Regions from separate parts of the Homo sapiens genome. Here all the other regions are linked to region 3. The links are contacts of gene promoters, found by promoter capture Hi-C in blood cells and fetal thymus (Javierre and others, 2016). All regions are on one chromosome and are shown on one strand. Each heading gives the region's core, a stretch centred on a gene start or on the middle of the fragment in contact. The rest is flanking DNA. Distances are from core to core; before and after follow the strand shown. Region 1 overlaps ASPA (aspartoacylase). Region 2 overlaps SPATA22 (spermatogenesis associated 22). Region 3 holds the start of OR1A2 (olfactory receptor family 1 subfamily A member 2). Region 4 holds the start of TRPV3 (transient receptor potential cation channel subfamily V member 3). Region 5 overlaps TRPV1 (transient receptor potential cation channel subfamily V member 1). Region 6 overlaps TRPV3 (transient receptor potential cation channel subfamily V member 3). Region 7 overlaps TRPV3 (transient receptor potential cation channel subfamily V member 3).

Region 1 (2,700 bases), core at 28-2,527, 300 kb before region 3:
TGTCAATCAGCAGTAGTATTTTGAAAGGAATTTTTTTTTTTCCCAAGCAGTAGGTCTCAACAGTGGGCTTAAAATATACAGTAAACCATGCCGCAAACAGATGTGCTGCCAGCGAGGCTTTGTTGTTCCATTTATAGAGCTCAGACACAGCAGGTTTAGCATCAGTCTTCAGAGTCCTACGATTTTTGGGCCGGGCGTGGTGGCTCATGCCTGTAATCCCAGCACTTTGGGAGGCCGAGGCAGGCGGATCATGAGGTCAGGAGATCGAGACCATCCTGGCTAGCAGAGTGAAACCCCATCTCTACTAAAAAAATGCAAAAAATTAGCCGGGCGTGGTGGCAGGCACCTGTAATCTCAGCTACTGGGGAGGCTGAGGCAGGAGAATGGCATGAACCTGGGAGGCGGAGCTTGCAGTGAGCCGAGATTGCGCCACTGCACTCCAGCCTGGACGACAGAGCAAGACTCCGTCTCAAAAAAAAAACAAAAAACAAGAGTTTTAGGATTTTTGAAACAGTTAATGAGCTTTGGCTTTAACCCAAAGTCACCAGCTGTGTTAGCTCTTAAGAGAGTCAGGCTGTCCTTTGAAGCTTTGAAGCTAGGCATTCATTTCTCCCCTCTAGCTAGGAAAGTCCTAGATAGCATCTTCTTCCAATAGAAGGCTGTTTCAACTACACTGAAGATCCGTTGTTTAGTGTAGCCATCTTTGTCAATGATTTTAGCTACATCTTCTGGATAACTTGCTACAGCTTCCACATCAGCAACTTGCTGGTTCGCTTTCCACTTGTAGGTTTTAGAGCTGTCTTCTTTCCTTAAACCTTGTGAACCAACCTCTCCCAGCTTCCTGCAGCTTCCTCACCTCTCTCAGCCTTCACAGAATTGAAGAGAGTTAGGGCCTTGCTGTGGGTCATGCTTTGGCTTAATGTGTGGCTGGTTTGATCTTCTATCCAGACCACTAAAACTGTCTCCATATCAGCAATAAGGTTGTTTTGCTTTCTTATCATTTGTGTGTGTGCACTGGAGTAGAATTTTTAATTTTCTTCAAGATCCTTTTCTTTGAATTCACAACTTGGCTAACCAGTGCAAGAGGCCTAGCTTTCAGCCTGTCTCAGCTTTTGACATGCCTTCCTTACTAAGCTTAATTTCTAGAAGTATGACCCTTTCTTTCACTTGAACACACAGAGTCTGCTGTAGACTTATTAATTATTGTGTCTCAAGGAACAGGGAGGCCAGAGGACAGGGAGAGAGACAAGGAAATGGCCGGTCAGTAGAGCAGTTAGAACTCACACAACATTCACTAAGTTCGCAGTCTCACATGGGCACGATTCATGGTGCCCCAAAACACTTAACAACAGTAACATCAAAGGCCACTGATCACAGATCACCATAGCAGATATAATAAATAAATCATAAAAAAGCTTGAAATATTATCAAAGGGTGACACAGAGACAAGGAGTGAGCACATGCTGTTGGAAACATGGCACTGTTAGACTTTCTAGACACAGGGTTGCCAAAAACCTTCAATTTGGAAAAAAAGTACAAGTACAGTATCCGTGAAGTGTAGTAAGGCAAAGCACAATAAAACAAATAACTTTATATATATCTATTTCAATTTTATATTCTGAATACAAAGGCTGTTTATTAAGAATGTTGAGCTACCCAAGTATCATGTATAATAAACTATATAGAAATAGGAAACACTTCTTTGAATAAGCTACATACATAAAATATGATATCTTTAAAGATATATTAATTAATTTAAGAAATGTGCTTAGATGCCTACCGAATAAGGCACTGTGCTAGGAGCTATGTATGCAGTTGAATAAGGCACAACCCTACTCTTAAGGAGCTTACAGACTAGCAGAATTTGTAAGACACCGTGTAAGATGTAAGCTGGAAGTGATTTCTAATGTAAACAGCAGCGAATACTTTTTGCATTGAGCGTTAGTTTAGTTGTCTTTGCAAAAGCTTCTTTCTTTTCGTAATATGCGGCCTCATTCACAAACACGGGGTACACGGTACAGTCTCCGCCCAGTGGGATCGTCTTCCCATCAAGAGTTAAAAACATGGGATCCCCAGGATGCAGTGGTTTCCAGTCTTGATCCTCTCAGGAAACAATCAAAATAAATATATTATATTTGGTTTTTCTCCTCTAAAAATTTATGTCAGACTCTAGACAACTAACAAATTACAGTATTCTGTTGTTTTAAAAGAGATACTTGAGCGAGGCATTGAGATGCAGGCAAGTGATCTGACTGCGCTGACATTGGGTCGTGAATTTTGGCAGTAGTTTTAAGAGTTCCCCTTTGCATTTGTATAATTGAAACGTGTAATTAACATTTGCTTCAGCCAGGTGCAGTGGCTCCTTGCCTGTAATCCCAGCACTTGGGGAGGCCAATGTGGGTGGATCGCTTGAGCCTAGGAGTTCAAAACCAGCCTGGGCAACACAGAGATCCTATCTCTAGAAAAAATACGAAAAATTAGCTGGGTGTGGTGGTGCATGCCTGTAGTCCCAGATACTCAGGAGGCTGAGGTGGGAGGATTGCTCAAGCCCCCAGAGGTTGAGGCTACAGTGAGCTATGTTCACACCACTGCACTCCAGCCTGGGTGACAGAATGAAACCCTGTCTCTAAAAAAAAATAAAAAAGAGTTTGCTTCAATACCAGGTTTACCTTGAATGTAGCCAAAGAGATTTATAATATT
Region 2 (2,821 bases), core at 148-2,647, 270 kb before region 3:
AGTGGAAACTTGTCATTACAATTATTCTAGATATGAAGGGAGGACTTAGTCTTTTTTTTTTTTTTTTTTTTTTGAGATGGAGTCTGGGTCTTGTTGCCCAGGCTGGAGTGCAGTGGCACGATCTCAGCTCACTGCAACCTCGGCCTCTCGGGCTCAAGCGATTCTCCTGCCTCGGCCTCCCGAGTAGCTGGGATTACAGGCGCCCGCCACCACTCCTGGCTAATTTTGTATTTTTAGTAGAGATGGGCTTTTGCCATGTTGGCCAGGCTGGTCTTGAACTCCTGACCTCAGGAAGACTTAGTCTTTGATATTATATAATCCAGGCATTTCAAACTGATGCAAAGGCAGATGTCCTGCACAATGCCTTAAAGTGGGGCATGGAGGAAGTTCCCGGTGGCTAAATACTGTGTTTCCTCCTTGGCCTTGGAAGCATGTACGTTTGCCAACGCTGTGGTCCATTTTCCTCTTTGTAGGTGTGGTTCAGAATTCTCTTTGTGGGTGCGGGATTCTGAAATAAATTACATATACTGTGTGAAAAAATGCACATATGTTTACGAAGCAAGGTTACAGTTGCCCTAGTCATAACTTAATTTGAACAGGGTTGGAAAAGTGGATTATGGTGTAAACTCTTAGAAAGCAAAGGACTCCCTAAAGTGTTTACGTGATCAGGTTTGAAAGTAGTTTACAACCATAATTTCAGTAATCACTGGGCTGAGGATTGGGTTTTATAGTTGAGACAATACGAGTTATAAGTTTCTTTCTTTGCAGGTCTAGTGGGACAATGTCATATTATAAATTTGGAATGCTGAATAGAAAATTATAGATTTTGATATTGAAGGAAATGAAGCGAAGCCTAAATGAAAATTCAGCTCGAAGTACAGCAGGTATTGAACAACTTTTTATTTTTAAATTTTCTGTATAGCATATAAAGCTTGTATAGTTTATAGATATAACATTGGAAATAAATTTAAAATAGATTGAACAGTTAATCTAGCCTCTTTACTTTTTAGGTCCAAGGAAGTAAAATAACTTACTCAAGACAAAACATTTAGTGGTAGAGGTGGGAGTAAGATCAAAGTTTCTTAGATTTATTTTGATATTCTTTCTACAAATTCGATGTGCTTGAGTTATTCTATGCTTTAAAACTGAAAACAAAGAAATAGATCTATTTTTGTTTGTATTTGTGACTTACTTGTTAAAAATATTTCCGGAAGCACTTCTGTCTTTCTAATAGCTTCTCCTATCATTTTTGCTTTCCCAATTTATTAGTATAAAGACAGATGGCAAGGATGATGAGAACCAGGGGAATGATGATGCATAATGAAGATAATAGTAACTATTATTTATGGTGGATTAACTGTATTCAAGACATTAATTATATATATTAATTTATTTAATCTTTACACCAATACCCTGAGATAGGTTATTATAATCATTTCTGTTGTTCAGATGAGAAAAACAAGGCTAAAAGAGGTTAAATAAGTAATCCATGAAGTAGCAGAATCAGAATTTGAACCTAGGAATCTGGCTCTTAGTCCATGCTCTTAATCATTATGCTATCAGTATATGTCATATTGGCACAAAGAGTTTAGGGAAATTGCCCAAGATCATACTCTGAAATTGTAATTCAAACCTACTTTGAAGTCATAATTCAAGACCTAGGCGGTCTGATTCCAGAGCCCACATAATTCTCCCAGCCTTTCATCAGAGACTGTTCACAGAGTCTGTATTTGCCTGTAGAACAATTGATGATGACCAGTTAGAGAATGGTACAGTGGCAAGAGATCCAAACTGATATTTAGGAATCTTGTGTCCTATCTAGATTCTTCCACTGACTTGCTCTATAGCAATGCACAAGCTTTTTGAACTTCTTTTCCCTTCGAGTTCCCTAAGTTTCAAAGTTTATATTTTGTGACTTTTGACCTGAATTGAGATCCTAGATCCGCCATCTGGAGGAATCGGTAGTAGTATTTATTCTCATTTGGACTGGATATTATTACTCTTTAAGGCATTCTCAAAATGATCCACAAAATATATAATTACAGATACCCGAGGTGCTTGTTAAAATTGCAGAGTTTTGAGTTCCAGGCTAAATCTGTTGAAATAAAATCTATGAGAGTGGAGTCTAGGAACTGCACATTAAGCAGAATTCCAGATAAATCTTAGTCCAATGAAACTTTGAGAACCAAGGCCCAAAAGGGTGTGCCACTATTGTCCAAAGCATGGTTCAGAGTTTGGTTCTTCCTCACCTCTGTTGTACTTCAAAGGTCCCCTGCAGTCGATATGGTAACAGGCAAGCACAGGAGGGGGATAAGGAAAACAAAAAGTGGATTTGGAAAGGTTGGGGGATGAGGGGGGAGATGGGAATTACTTCCATATGGGAGGAATTAAAACTGTTAGAGTAGAATAAGAAAAGTTTTTTGAAGAAACAAATTAGGCTATTCAGGATCTTAAAAAGAATGTAAAAATCATTCTAAGGTTATAGAAATCTATAAGTATATTAGCATATAGAAGTAGATAAATGTAAAGTGTGTATTATACTAGTAATTATTTTACAACTAGATCTGCTTATTTGTCTATTATGTACTAATTTATTGGTACATTCAATTTAGGCTGTTTGCCTGTTCCGTTGTTCAATCAGAAAAAGAGGAACAGACAGCCATTAACTTCTAATCCACTTAAAGATGATTCAGGTATCAGTACCCCTTCTGACAATTATGATTTTCCTCCTCTACCTACAGGTAAGAAAATTAATAAGGTAAAAATTTTCAGGAAATACAAAACTAGGATTATAGAAAATTGTAATTTATATTATAATGAA
Region 3 (2,798 bases), core at 38-2,537:
GCATGAGCCATTTTGATATACACAAGCTGTGTCAGAGAGTCCGGCAGATATTATTTTCCTAACATGTAGATATGCAAGCTGAGACTCAGACTTTTTCAACTTTACTCTGCTAGTAAATTTCTGCTAACTGGGACATGAACCTGATATTCCCAGCCTGCCACTCTCTCAAAAAAGAGCAGGAATTTGTCCAAAGTGATAATTTCAATAAAATATCACATCCGTTACAAGATTTCTGGTAGAGGAATTTCTGGCTCAAAAGAACAAAAGGAGCTTCTTGAAGGGCAATGACATTGGAGCTGGATTTCCAAGTGTATCCCACTTGGTCATTACAGTATCCAGCGTGTAATCTCACAGCGGCTATGAGGAGATTCTCTTGCTGAAGAGTTTCTGTAGGGCTGCCTTCATATCCCAATTTCTCAGACTATAGATGAAAGGATTTAATGCTGGGGTCACTGCCACATACATCACAGTTATCACTGCATCTTTGGGGCTGTAACTGGTCAGAGGGCGGAAATACATGCCCATCGTTGTACCATAATATAAAAAAACAACTGTGAGGTGGGAGCCACAGGTGCAGAAGGCTTTGAATAGACTCTTGGTAGATGGAACTTGGAAGACTGTGGAAAAGACCTGAACATAGGAGACAATGATGCATAGTAATGGCAAAGAGAAAACGCCGACCCCTAGGTACATCATCTTCACATTAAAGTGGACGTCAGAACAGGACAACTTCAGCAAAGGCATAATGTCACAGTAGAAATTGGCTACTTCCTGGTTGCCACAGAAGGACAAACTAGCTGTGAGCAGAGTGTGGGGGAGAGCACTGGTGTTTCCAATCACCCAAGACCCAGCAATAAGCAGGATACAAGACCGTGGACTCATAATTGTTGTGTAATGAAGTGGGCAGCTGATGGCCACAGCTCGATCGTATGCCATTGCAGCCAAGGTATAGCTGTCTGCCTTGGCCAAGGCTATCATGAAATACATCTGCATTAGGCATCCCCCAAAGGAGATGAACTTGCTCCCCAAGAGATGGTTGGCCAGCACCTTAGGGATGGTTACGGATGAGAAGATGATGTCAACCAAGGAGAGGTTGGCAAGGAGAAAATACATGGGGTTGTGAAGGCGAATGTCAGCACAGATGGCCAAGATGATGAGCAGATTTCCAGTCAGTGTGATGGGGTAAATGCACAAAAAAATCACAAAGAAGACATTATTCTGTTCTTGCTGACTAGTAACTCCCAGGAGAATAAAATCCAGGTTAAAGGATTGATTTTCTTTCTTCATGGCTTCTTCAGCATGAAAGGGGAGAGGAACCCAGAATTATTAGCGCAGTTAGTGTGTGTTATAGTCTGCCTTATCTACCACTTAAACGTTTTTAATTATTTTACAAATTCACCTGCTGTCAAACTTATCCACCACTTTTCATTAGCCATGGCTATACCTGGTTTTTACAATCATAAATATAGCCAGCACTTTTGGGTAAAATCTCTGTTGGTCAATGGGACGAACTCTCATTGACCTCCTGGACACTCATGTCAAAGAAGTTAGCGATCTGTGAAGTAAAGATGGTTGTCCTTCCAAATGTAGCACCACCACCTTAATATCTATAATTTAATCACATAACAAAAACCTAATTTCATGTTTCATGTCTTAGATTTTTTTTTACTTTGTAGAGAAACAATAAATATGTGAAAATACAGTTATTCATCCACTTATTTGTTACACAAGACATAGCATCTGTTCTCAAGGACCTTATAATTGAATAGGAAAGCCAGACTCACACAATAATTTTATTACACATGGTAAGAAAAGGATAGCCTCTTGGAGTCCTTGTGAAAAAAACAAACAAAAAATCCTCCAGTGCAAAGGATGTATCATAGTAGGAATGCAGTGAACAATTTAAAGTTGTTCCTCCAACCAGTCTCGGGGTGAGCCCAGAGCCCAGGAAGTCAGAGGTGTCTACACTGCCATCAGATTCTAAAACAGAAAGACAACTGGCATTAGGTCCTAGAAAAACAAGCTCAGTGAACTTACTCCACAGGTGTTCGATTTTCAAAGATATTCCCTATCTTTTTGACAGCTTTTCTCTCTTTTCAAAGCCCATAACTATACATAATCACAGTGCTTTTTCCACTGGCCTTTGTCTTGGTTCATTTTGTGTTGCTATAACAGAATACTTGAGACTGGGGAATTTATAAGAAAAGAGGTTGAATTGTCTCATGGATCTGTAGGCTGGGACATTCAAGAGCGTGGCCCTGGCTTCTGGCAAGGGCTTTCTTGCTGCATCATAACCTGTCAGAGAAGGTCAACAGGGAAGTGGATACAGGGGAAGAGAGAAAACCCGAGAAGTATACTGGTTTTATCACAACCCACTCCTGTAGGAACATTCCCTTAAGATTAATCCAGTCTTGAGAGAATGAGAACACACTTACTACCATGAGAACAGCACCAGACCACTCATGAGGGATCCACCCCCTTGACTCAAACGCTTCCCACTAGGCTTTACCTCCCAACACCTCCCACACTGGGGATCACATTTCAACATGAGTTTTGGTGAGGGCAAACTCAATCCATAGCAGTCTTCTCTTCCTTGTCTTCCTTATTTCTTTTTGTAGTAATCCAAGTCCACAGTGGATTCAACTATTCTTTAGTAAACTGTCATGTCTGTATCTGTGGTCTCGATTTCTTTTTCCCATATTTCCATATTCAGTCATCCTGCTAACATGTCTGACCAAACCCCACACTCTGCACTTAAAACCTAAGTAGTTTGCAAGATGTTTCTTTTCTTTTTTTTT
Region 4 (2,714 bases), core at 215-2,714, 360 kb before region 3:
CTGGGCACAGGGCACACCTCTGGGTGGGAGACAGGGGCCTTTTTCACCAGCTCCCACCTGCCCTCTGAGAAAAGTTATGAACACGAGCAAAATGGAAGCACTGACATTTGGCAGCAGCTTCCTCCCCAGGCGTCTGAGCCGCCAGAGGCAAACAGGGAGGGCGCGGGGCTGGGTCGGGAGAGGGTGAGTAAGCTAGTGGCCGGAGGCCGTGCTCAACCCCAGATCGGGCTTTTCCGGTCGAGTTTCAGGCACAGTCATGAGATTTCAGATTGTGAGTGGGAACTTCAGGACCCCCTGACTTCAACGGCAGAAGCGGTCTCCTGCTTCACCCACACCCTCAAGTCTGGTCTGCCCCTTACCGGCCATAGGTCCTGCTCTCCCGTGGCCTAGAAGCCTCACCTGCCTCCTGCCTCCTCCCCAGGCCAGGCAGGTTGTGATGATGAGGGATTGAGAGGCTCACAGCTGGGGATTTCCCTGCCCATCAGGCGCCAGCTGCGGCCGCGTCAGCAGAGACTTCCTGCTCTGTCCCAGCTGTGTCTTGTCCACATCTCGCCCCGGGGAGCAGGTGTGCAGTTCCTGAGTGACGCGAGACACACACGGCCATCCTGACTCACTCCACCCACTTCACAGCTGCAGCCTGGGCCAGGAGAGAGGGCACCGATTCCTTCTATGACGCCCTGGCCTTGGAGAAGGGCAACCTGGGCAGTTGCTGGGAGAATACATTGAGATGACAAAAGCAATCATAGCTAAGAGCTGACATTGTTTATTGAGTTCTTGCCGTGCCCTGGGCCTTGTTCTGGCCCTTTCTACTTGTACTTGTTGAAGCCCCACGATAACCTTGCAAAGTGGGTTTATGAAGCACGTTTCACAGATGAGGAGACTGAGGCTCGGAGAAATGACCTGCTAAGGTCATTCAGCCAGGAAGGGGTGAGGCTGACACTAAGGGCCATGATGCGTGACTGCTGGTGGACAGCATTAAATGGGGACTTCCGTCCCCGAGAGACCTGATCCCAGGAACCGACTTTTGAGAACAAGTGCCGAGTCTTGGGGCTGGCCACCCTGAGGTCAACCAGGCTAGGCCTGGGCTGCGGTCTTCCCTCCCAGGGGACAGAGCAGAGCGCTTGACTCTTCACTAGGCCCTCCCACCTCTGTGATCTCTTTGGCTCTTCACGGCTCCCTTGGAAAGTAGATGTTATCATTCCCATTTCCTAGTTGGAAAAATAGGCCTGAGATGGGCAGTCCCTGCCCAGCATGGAATGCCAGAGAGGGAGGAGTTGGACCCACAACTTCGATCTTGGCACCTGCGGCCTCCCCTGCCTTTTCTCCGGTGGGGATGAGGCTGCTGTGTGGGTGTGGGGGTGACTCACACGGGCCACGTGGGTGGGCGGGTGCTGCAGCTGTGGCTGGTGGGCGTGGCCTGCCTGGCGCCGAGGGCAGGTGGCTCAGCCAGTTCTGCCTCTGACGCCTCATTCCAGCCATCCCTCTGCCTGCAATGAGAGCTTCCCGCCGCCTCAGCCACAGTCCCACCCGGGGGCCTTGGGCCCCAGACATGCGGTGATCTCAGGGCAAGGGTTGCCACGACCACCCAGAACCTCACCAGGTGAGTCTTCTGTGCACAAGGCAGCTGGTGATCTCCAAGGCCCCTGGGGAGCCCAGAGCGTGGCCCTCAGAGGTCCTCTGGGCCATGTCTGCCCTTGGCCAATAGGCCTTGGGAGGAGGGTTGGAAGGAGCTTGGGCCCCAGCCAGGGGCCCACTCTTGGCTGTAGGGAGGCACTCTTGGCTGCACTCTTGGCTGTAGGGATGTGTGAGAATATAGGTCCTTACAGACTCAGGAACATTCCCCTGAGGTTTGGGAATCCTGGGGAGGGACATCTCAATCTCACCACTGCTGGGGGCAGAGGAGAGGCTCCTGCCTCCCGAGGCTGACCCAGGGAGGTGGCTTTCTGGGGCAGGATTGTGATGGGAGTTCAGGATGGGAGGAGGTGGCCCCACCGTGGGAGACAGACGGGGCCCAGGCATCTCACAGGTGCTGAGTCAGCAGCTGTGGCTCCGCGGCCTGGTCTGTCGCCCGGGAAAGGCCATTTCAATCAGTGTCAGGGATTGGGAGAGAGAGGGAGGGCCAGGGCAACAAGAGAGTCCAGCAGGTGAGAACGTGGGGTTTACGGGGTGACTCAGGGAGCTAATGATAGCTGCTGCGGCCCTAGTCCAGAGTTCCCTGAGCCTCTCCTGCCCCAGAGGCCCAGGGCAGGCCACATTCTCGGGCCCAGAGAAGAGAGAGAGCAACCAGCTCTCAGGGCCACAGAGTCCTTGGGGACCATTCAGCCCACTTCTCAGAAAGGAAACCAGAGGCCCTGGGAGGGGCAAGAGACGTGCCCTTCTTCTGTCTCCTTCACGCTCGGTGCATCCCAGCCTTTTAGTCCACCAAAGGCCACGTGGGGATGGGGAAAGCCATAGAGGCTGCCCATCCTCATCAGGCCGTGACTGGACACGGGAGGGCCGGGTGCCCAGGAGTCCCTCTCTGTGGGCTACTCCACCTGCCTGGCCTCAAGGTTGCCTACGCTCCAGGGCCAAAGCTCTCCCTCGCCGATGCCTCCTCCATCCTGAGCCTGCTCCCTTTGAGTTGGAGGGCGGGGGACTCTCTCCAGCCTGATGACACCTGGCTCCGGAAACTTCCTCCAGGAAGCTTTCCTATTGGGGTAGGATCACCAGTGGCC
Region 5 (2,700 bases), core at 154-2,653, 390 kb before region 3:
CCCAGCTACTCAGGGAGGCTGAGACAGGAGAATCGCTTAAACCTTGGAGGCAGAGGTTGTGATGAGCTGAGATGGCACCACTGCACTCCAGGCTGGTCAACAAGAGTGAAACTCTGTCTCAAAAAAAAAAAAAGAAAAATCACGCAGGAATTTGGGCTCGGGACAGGGCTCACCCCTGGCCTGGGGGTCCCCAGGGATGTGGGCTGGTGTCTAAGCCCAGAGCCCACCATCATCCTGCTTGCCTGCCCTCTTTCATTCACTCACTTGCTCATTATTCATTCCCTGGATTTAGACTTTTGAGCAGCTCTGTGCCAGGCCCTGGGCCATCCATCAAATCAGCCTAAGACCAGCCTTTTTCCTCTGCCAAGAGCCAAGACTTCATCAAACTTCTGGACTTAGTCCTTCGTGTCTGATACCCAGGACACTTAATTTGCTGCTTTTGTTTCCAGGGCACTTTACAAGTTTACTTACTTACTTAATTTTTGTTTTTTTGAGATGGAGTCTCGCTCTATCACCCAGGCTGGAGTGCAGTGGCGCAATCTCTGCTCACTGCAACCTCCACCTCCCGGGTTCAAGTGACTCTTCTGCCTCGGCCTCCCGAATAGCTGGGACTACAGGCACCCACCAACATGCCAAGCTTATTTTTATATTTTTAGTAGAGATGGGATTTCACCGTATTGGCCAGGCTAGTCTTGAACTCCTGACCTCAAGTGATCGCCTGCCTCGGCCTCCCAAAGTGCTTGGATTACAGGTGTGAGCCACCGTGCCCGGCTGCACATTTACTTTAAAAACTCAACTTCATAATTGCATGAAACCCGATTTCTGTCCACCTATTAAGGCCACATAATGACTTCCTTTTTTTTTTATTTTATTTTTTTTTTTTTTGAGACAGAGTCTCTCTCTGTTTTCCAGGCTGGAGTGCAGTGGTGTGATCTCAGCTCACTGCAAGCTCTGCCTCCTGGGTTCACGCCATTCTCCTGCCTCAGCCTCCCTCTTTTTTTTTGTTTTTTGTTTTTTGTTTTTTGAGACAGAGTCTCGCTCTGTTGCCCAGGCTGGAGTGCAGTGGCGCCACCTTGGCTCACCGCAACCTCTGGCTCCGGGGTTCAAGTGATTCTTCTGTCTCCCAAGTAGCTGGGATTACAGCCATGAGCTACCACGCCTGGCTAATTTTGTATTTTTAGTAGAGATGGGGTTTCTCCATGTTGGTCAGGCTGGTCTCGAACTCTCGACCTCAGGTGATCCGCCCGCCTCGGCCTCCCAAAGTGCTGGGATTACAGGCGTGAGCCACTGCACCCGGCCAGTGACTTCTTTTTAAGAGAAAAATGTGCTGGTAAGGCAAGCTGATGAACTAGTGCTTAGGAAATGTGGATGGTGACCCACTCCAGGAAATGGCCACTGAAATACAAGGGTGACACCCACAAGTGTGTGTGGCACAGTCTCTCCCTCCATGGTCAGTGGGAGTCCCTGACACTCGTGGGAGACTGGCCATGGGCTGGGGTGGCAGCGGGATGTGTATGGCGTGGGGTCCATGAGAGTGCTTCCACCTCTCCATCACCCTGCTGTCCATCACTCTGCTCCCAGCCAGGAGGAGCTCTGGGCCTGCCGGGACATTGCTTGGGAGGCGGCACAGCATTGTAAGATGCTCCGCTTGGCACCTGCAGGCTGCCACTTTGGGGAATCAGGCCCACAGAGGGGCCTCCTTGCGGGCGCTCCCCTAATAACACACTGTCTTTGTGTGTCCTTCCCCTGATGGAGGCTGTGCCTCCTGGGCAGGGACTATGGCTTCATGGACCTGGTCCATGTTTGTTGAATGAACGAATGAGTAAATGGAGTTACCAACTTCTCTGCATCTCACAGCCTCCCTTTAAGATGGAAAAAACTGGAGACTATTTCCGAGTTACTGGAGAGATCCTGTCTGTGTTAGGAGGAGTCTACTTCTTTTTCCGAGGGGTAAGCGTTCCTTCCCACATTGTGAGTTTCCATTATCACCAAAACAAAAAGCCAAGAAGATCCCTCAGCGCTCACTCACTTTTTAATTCATCAGACACATCATAGCCCTACTTGGGGAGCTGAGAGACGCAGAGGTGAAGATGAGAGCCCTTCAGTCAGTCACCGCGGGGCGGGAGGGTGCTCAGGGCGTCTCCACAGGCCCAAGGCAGGCAAGCTTGAAAGTAGACACTCCAGCCACTCCACGGAACGGAGTATTTGATTACAGGGGCAGAGTGGAGGCCTCTTAAGTGATAGGATCATGACTGGTAGTTTTTTAATTAAACCAATCTGTTAAAGCTCTGAGCAGTGAAGGAAATCTCCTTGCATACTGGAATCTTTTTTTTTTTTTTTTGAGGTGGAGTTTCGCTTTGTCATCTAGGCTGGAGGCTAGTGGCACGATCTCGGCTCACTGCAACCTCCGCCTCTTGGGTTCAAAAAATTCTCCTGAGTAGCTGGGATTACAGGCGCCTGCCACCACAGCCGGCTAATTTTTTTGTATTTTTAGTAGAGGTGGGGTTTCACCATGTTGGCCAGGCTGGTCTCGAACTCCTGACCTCAGGTGATCCACCTGCCTCAGCCTCCCAAAGTGCTGGGATTACAGGCGTGAGCCACCACACCAGCAAGGAATTGTTTTATTTTTAACCTGAAACTCAAACATGTGCAATCCTTGGCCATTTTTTTTTTTTTTAATGCAGGAGTAATCTTTTCTTT
Region 6 (2,700 bases), core at 198-2,697, 340 kb before region 3:
CTTCCTCTTAGCATTTCCTCCACCCGGAGCAGAGGGGCTCCAGGACCAGCAGAGTAGCATTCTTCCACACTCTGGGCAGGACCCAAGGTGACCACTCTGATTGTCCACTCTAAAGTTTCCCTTCCCCAGTCACTTTCTGTCACCCTATCTTCATTTATTTTCATAGCATTTTTTTGTATCTAAAATAACCTTATTTAGAGCAATGACTTTGTTTATTTATTTATTTATTTATTTATTTATTTATTTTTTGAGATGGAGTTCCGCTGTGTCACCAGGCTGGAGTGCAGTGGCACAACCTCTGCCTCCCGGGTTCAGGTGATTCTCCTGCCTCAGCATCCCAAGTAGCTGGGACTACAGGCAACTGCCTCACCTCTCTGAGCCTCAGTTTCCCCACTGGGCAAGGGCGAATATTTCCTCCCTATGCTGCTAAGAGGAACCAATCACAACTTTATTCATATCATTTTAAAGCATTTTATCAGAGGCCTTCAGAGTTTTACTTTTTTAAGCAATTCTTCAATTAAGACATTTTTATTATAAAAATTTTAAACATGAAGTTAAGATATTAGAATAATAAACCTCTACACATCCATCATCAGATTCAATATAACAGTTTCTTTTTATTATTTTACTTTATTTTATTTTATTATTGTTTTTGAGACAGGTTCTCACTCTGTTGGGCAGGCTGGAGTGCAGTGGCGCGACCACGACTCGCTGCAGCCTTGACCTCCCTGGGCTCAGGTAATTTTCCCACCTCAGCCTCCCGAGTAGCTGGGACTATAGATGCGTGCCACCCCGCCCAGCTAATTTTTCTATTTGTTGCAGGGATAGGGTTTCACCATGTTGCCCAGGCTGGTCTGTAACTCCGGGGCTCAAGCAATCCTCCCGCCTCTGCCTCTCAATGATGGGATTATAGGCGTGAGCCACCGCACCCAGCCTAACAACATCCACGTCACATGAATAGAGTTTCATTGTAAAGCAGCCCAGCATTTTACATACTTTTTTTTTTTTTAAGTCCTTTACCCATATACTTTGTGGAGTTTTCTAGGCCTTTGACATTTGTGTGTGTATATGTGCACACAGAAAAAGTTTTATTTATTTAACATAAAATATTATCATACTGTCTGTATTCTACAAGTTGGTTTTTTTGATTAACTATTAACCATATGTCTTGGAGCACTTCTTATGCCAAAATATGAAAGTCTAGCTTCTTTTCACCAGATTCGTCTGCAATTGCGGCTGCACCTTGGCTAATTTCACCACTCCCCCACTGACAGACAGTCAGGTGTTTCCAGCTGTGTTGTGACAATGTCACAGTGCACGATCTTGTCTATGACCCTGTGCACAGGTGCACATATGTTTCAGAAAATATTTTGAATTGGAATATCTGGGTTCAACCGCATGCATATTTAAAGTTATAATAGTGGCCAGGCGCAGTGGCTCATGCCTGTAATCCCAGCACTTTGGGAGGCCAAGGCAGGTGGATCACTTGAGGTCAGGAGTTCCAGACCAGCCTAGCCAACATGGTGAAAACCCATCTCTACTAAAAATACAAAAACTAGTAGGGCGTGGTGGGGCACGCTTGTAATCCCAGCTACTTGGGAGGCTGGGGCAGGAGGATCACTTGAACCTGGGAGGCGGAGGTTGCAGTGAGCCGAGATCGCGCCACTGCACTCCAGCCTGGGCAACAGAGGGAGACTCCATCTCAAAAAAAAAAATTTTTTTTTAAATAAATAAAATAAAGTTATAATAGTTATTGCCAAATTTGTCTCTAAAAGATACTCATTTACTCTCTCCCCACAACGGTGTACAGAAATACTCATTCTCCTACTTATCACTAACACTGCAAATTATCCTTTTTTTTTTTTTTTTGTTCTTTTCCAGTCTGGTGGGTGAAAAGGGTTAACTCTTTAGGTTCTAATTTTCATTTTCCTGACCACCAGTGATTCCAAACATCTTTCACTTTGTTTATTCACTGTGTGTATTTTCTCCTCTGTGAGGTGCTTGTTTATAATCTTTTCTCAGTTTTCTTTTAGACTGTTTGTCTTTCTATTGATTCATAGGCGCTTGTAATATATTATAGACTTTTAAAAACACAATGCCTTTCTATTTTTTTTTTGAGACGGGGTCTTGCTCTATTGCCCAGGCTGGAGTGCAGTGGCATGCTCACTGCAAGCTCCACCTCCCGGGTTCACACCATTCTCCTGCCTCAGCCTCCCGAGTAGCTGGGACTACAGGCACTCACCATCACGCCCGCCTAATTTTTTGTATTTTTAGTAGAGACAGAGTTTCACCAGGTTAGCCAGGATGGTCTCGATCTCCTGACCTCGTGATCTGCCCGCCTCAGCCTCCCAAAGTGCTGGGATTACAGGTGTGAGCCACCGTGCCTGGCATGCCTTTTTTTTTTTTTTTTTTTTAAAAAGACAGAGTCTTGCTCTCTAGCCCAGGCTGGAGTACAGTGGCGCGATCTCTGCCTCCTGAGTTCAAGTGATTCTCCTGCTTCAACCTCCTGAGTAGCTGGGACTACAGGTGCCCGCCACCACACTTGGCTAATTTTTTTGTATTTTCAGTAGAGATGGGGTTTCTCCATGTGGGCCAGGCTGGTCTCGAACTCCTGACCTCAAGTGATCCACCCGCCTCGGCTTCCCAAAGTGCTGGGATTACAGGTGTGAGCTACCGCGCCCGGCCCTAAAACACATTGCC
Region 7 (2,700 bases), core at 78-2,577, 320 kb before region 3:
GTCCATTAGATCCCCAGAACTTATTCATCTTATTCATTGATTTAGTTCTGAATAATGGCTGTGTTTAACAACCAGCTCACAAGCTTCATGAGAATTTAACGATCAGCTCTTGCGAGCTCTTCTGAGCTGGCTCCAGCATGCCACTGCCCCCAGCAAGTGTGAGGATTCCAGTGTGAGACCCTATGGTGAAAGGTACAGGGTGAATCACAGGGAGAAGAGAACCTGGGGCTGGAGCAGAAACAGAAGGCTTCCTGGAGGAGGCAGGATCCAGTGTTGAGCCTTGGAGCATCAGGAGGATTTGGCTGGGGGAAGGGAGAGTGGCCCAAGTGAAGAGACAGTTAGGGTGGGGGGTGGGAGAGGGTGGGAAGCAGGAAGATCAGGGTGCCGTGAATATGTGCTTGCACCTTACACTTGAATTATGTTTATTTCCTTATAGGTCATTTTGCATGATGTTCTGAAGTTCTTGTTTGTATATATCGTGTTTTTGCTTGGATTTGGAGTAGGTAATTGATTTATAAATAATAGTAACTCCCACATTTATAAACACTTTATACAGATGTCAAAATGGCAAAGTGCATGGCGGCCTTGGCAACAATTAGACCAACTACCAGTGGGGCACTTGCCATGCTTGGCATTTTCCAAGCATTACCTTTATATATATACATATATATTTTATTATACTTTAAGTTCTAGGGTACATGTGCACAACATGCAGGTTTGTTACATATGTATACATGTGCCATGTTGGTATGCTGCACCCATTAACTCGTCATTTACATTAGGTATATCTCCTAATCAAGCATTACCTTTTTACTTCTCTCAACAACTTGATCAAGTGGGAATCATCACCCCGATCATAAGGTAACTGAGGCTTAGAGACTCCAGGATTCAAACCAGGCCAGCCACTCATAATCCAACTTCACCATGTGGTATATACCTCTGGCTTTCCCATTCATTGCTTACGTGGCCCTCACGACCTAAGATAGGTTCTGCAAGTGTTTTCAGCCCCATTTTAACAGATGCGGAAACTAAAGTCCACAGAAACTCAACTGATGGTCTTTGCAAAGTAGGAGCAAACTAATACCCTGAGGTGATTTCCTTTGGATTTCACATCACGTTACTCTCACAGTTTGCTTTAGATACAACTGTGAGAGCCTCTCTGGTCTGCTGGGACCAGGAAGGAGCCCCCTCTTAAAATCTCTCCATTTACAACAGAGGGAACAGCACGATCTGGTTGTATTTCTAACCTCTGCATAGAGAGATATCATTTTCCCCCACGTACCAGTTGCTTTTTTTTCTTTTCTTCAGTGACCATTGACATTTGAAATTAAGTAGCTGTTTCCATCTGTCTGGTACCTTTTCTGGGTCACAATTTGCTTATTTATTTGCTCCTTCACCTGCTTGTTTATTCATCCATCTATTTACTCTCTCATTTAATTTGCTCATCCACCTGTCTATCCGTCCATCCATCCATCCATCCATCCATCCATCCATCCATCCAATCATTCATCCATCGATCCATCCATTGATCTATCCATCTATCCATCCATCCATCCATCCATCCATCCATCTAATCATCCATCCAATCATCCATCCATCCATCCATCCATCCATCCATCCATCCAGTCATCCATCCATTCATCCATTTAATCATCCATCCATCGATCAATCGGTCCATCCATCCAGCTATCCATCCATCCATCCATCCATCTAATCATTCATCCATCAATCCATCCATCCATCCATCCATCCATCCATCCATCCATCCATCTATCCATCCATCCAATCATCCATCCATCCATCGATCAATCAGTCCATCCATCCATCTAATCATCCATCTAATCATCCATCCATCCATCCATCCATCCATCCAGTCATCCATCCATTCATCCATTTAATCATCCATCCATCCATCGATCAATTGGTCCATCCATCCATCTATCCATCCATCCATCCATCCATCTAATCACCCATCCATCCATCCATCCATCCAATCATCTATCCATCCATCCATCTAATCATCTATCCATCCATCCATCCATCCATCCATCCAATCATCCATCCATCCATCCATCCATCCCTCCATCTAATCATCCATCCCTCCATCCATCCCTCCATATCCATCCATCCATCCATCCATCCATCCATCCAACCATTCAGCAGTGAACCTCTACTGTGGTGTGTTGGAAAGAAGGGAAGTGTGAGCCTGGTCTTGCTCACAGGGAACTCAAAACAGAGCATTAGGAGGAGACTCAGGATCTTACAGCCTTGAGGGAGGTGACCCAGGCTAGAGGAAGTCAGGAGCTCAAAGACTAGCTGGGGAGCCAGGGACACACACATGGATTATAATTAGTGGCTCTGCAAGGCTGCAAGTGATCAAGGGCAGACTGCGGGGTAAAGGAAGGAGAGAAGACTCTGGGCTTTGTTAGGTGGAAGGGCTTTCTGCAGGAGGCCAGGCCAGAGAAGCCAGCCTGATGAGGCTTTGAGAGGACCTGAAACTGGAGATGGGATTTAATGGCCAGAGAGAAGGAGGCAGCAGGCTTGTCATGTAGGCAAATACACGCAAGCTTGTAGAGTAATTACCAGGCAGAGAGCTGAGGAGAGCACCCTGTTATGTTCCCTTAGCCTTGGCCTCGCTGATCGAGAAGTGTCCCAAAGACAACAAGGACTGCAGCTCCTACGGCAGCTTCAGCGACGCAG

What was found. Contacts are between HindIII fragments. The CHiCAGO score rates a contact against its expected background, and 5 or more counts as called.
Region 1: a fragment that was not itself captured here is called in contact with the fragment with the promoter of OR1A2 in region 3 in 6 of 17 cell types (M1 macrophages, endothelial precursors, M0 macrophages and 3 more); the score reaches 10.3 in M1 macrophages.
Region 2: a contact is called between a fragment that was not itself captured here and the fragment with the promoter of OR1A2 in region 3, in 5 of 17 cell types (M1 macrophages, M2 macrophages, M0 macrophages and 2 more). The highest score is 9.7, in M1 macrophages.
Region 4: a contact is called between the fragment with the promoter of TRPV3 here and the fragment with the promoter of OR1A2 in region 3, in 3 of 17 cell types (M1 macrophages, neutrophils and M0 macrophages). The highest score is 7.6, in M1 macrophages.
Region 5: a contact is called between a fragment that was not itself captured here and the fragment with the promoter of OR1A2 in region 3, in 1 of 17 cell types (M1 macrophages). The highest score is 5.2, in M1 macrophages.
Region 6: a fragment that was not itself captured here is called in contact with the fragment with the promoter of OR1A2 in region 3 in 3 of 17 cell types (M1 macrophages, M0 macrophages and M2 macrophages); the score reaches 9.2 in M1 macrophages.
Region 7: a contact is called between a fragment that was not itself captured here and the fragment with the promoter of OR1A2 in region 3, in 3 of 17 cell types (M0 macrophages, endothelial precursors and M2 macrophages). The highest score is 6.8, in M0 macrophages.

What each region holds. Positions count from the first base shown.
Region 1 is chr17:3,498,292-3,500,991 of GRCh38, reverse strand. ASPA (aspartoacylase) reads right to left here. Exons shown (of 6, transcript NM_000049.4): 6 at 1-2,101. The coding sequence ends at 1,904. It also overlaps a transcript of SPATA22 not described here. Among named protein-coding and RNA genes, the nearest start is that of ASPA, 24 kb to the right of the region's middle. The HindIII fragment of the contact is 281 bases long and covers 1,137-1,417 here.
Region 2 is chr17:3,467,346-3,470,166 of GRCh38, reverse strand. It overlaps SPATA22 (spermatogenesis associated 22), which reads left to right. Exons shown (of 9, transcript NM_001170698.2): 2 at 769-884; 3 at 2,613-2,741. The coding sequence starts at 842. Among named protein-coding and RNA genes, the nearest start is that of SPATA22, 3.1 kb to the left of the region's middle. The HindIII fragment of the contact is 927 bases long and covers 934-1,860 here.
Region 3 is chr17:3,196,008-3,198,805 of GRCh38, reverse strand. It overlaps OR1A2 (olfactory receptor family 1 subfamily A member 2), which reads right to left and starts at 1,287. Exons shown (of 1, transcript NM_012352.3): 1 at 358-1,287. The coding sequence starts at 1,287. The coding sequence ends at 358. The HindIII fragment of the contact is 7,515 bases long and covers 1-2,798 here.
Region 4 is chr17:3,556,562-3,559,275 of GRCh38, reverse strand. TRPV3 (transient receptor potential cation channel subfamily V member 3) reads left to right here and starts at 1,464. Exons shown (of 18, transcript NM_145068.4): 1 at 1,464-1,600. RefSeq lists enhancers at 1-447, 356-585, 616-665, 746-805, 448-1,264 and 2 more and a silencer at 2,446-2,505. The HindIII fragment of the contact is 5,895 bases long and covers 1-2,685 here.
Region 5 is chr17:3,582,588-3,585,287 of GRCh38, reverse strand. TRPV1 (transient receptor potential cation channel subfamily V member 1) reads left to right here. Exons shown (of 17, transcript NM_080704.4): 10 at 1,858-1,950. Among named protein-coding and RNA genes, the nearest start is that of TRPV1, 25 kb to the left of the region's middle. The HindIII fragment of the contact is 1,527 bases long and covers 640-2,166 here.
Region 6 is chr17:3,537,607-3,540,306 of GRCh38, reverse strand. All of the region lies in intron 6 of TRPV3 (transient receptor potential cation channel subfamily V member 3), which reads left to right. Among named protein-coding and RNA genes, the nearest start is that of TRPV3, 19 kb to the left of the region's middle. The HindIII fragment of the contact is 3,774 bases long and covers 1-2,700 here.
Region 7 is chr17:3,518,776-3,521,475 of GRCh38, reverse strand. It overlaps TRPV3 (transient receptor potential cation channel subfamily V member 3), which reads left to right. Exons shown (of 18, transcript NM_145068.4): 14 at 437-503; 15 at 2,626-2,700. Among named protein-coding and RNA genes, the nearest start is that of TRPV3, 38 kb to the left of the region's middle. The HindIII fragment of the contact is 2,484 bases long and covers 86-2,569 here.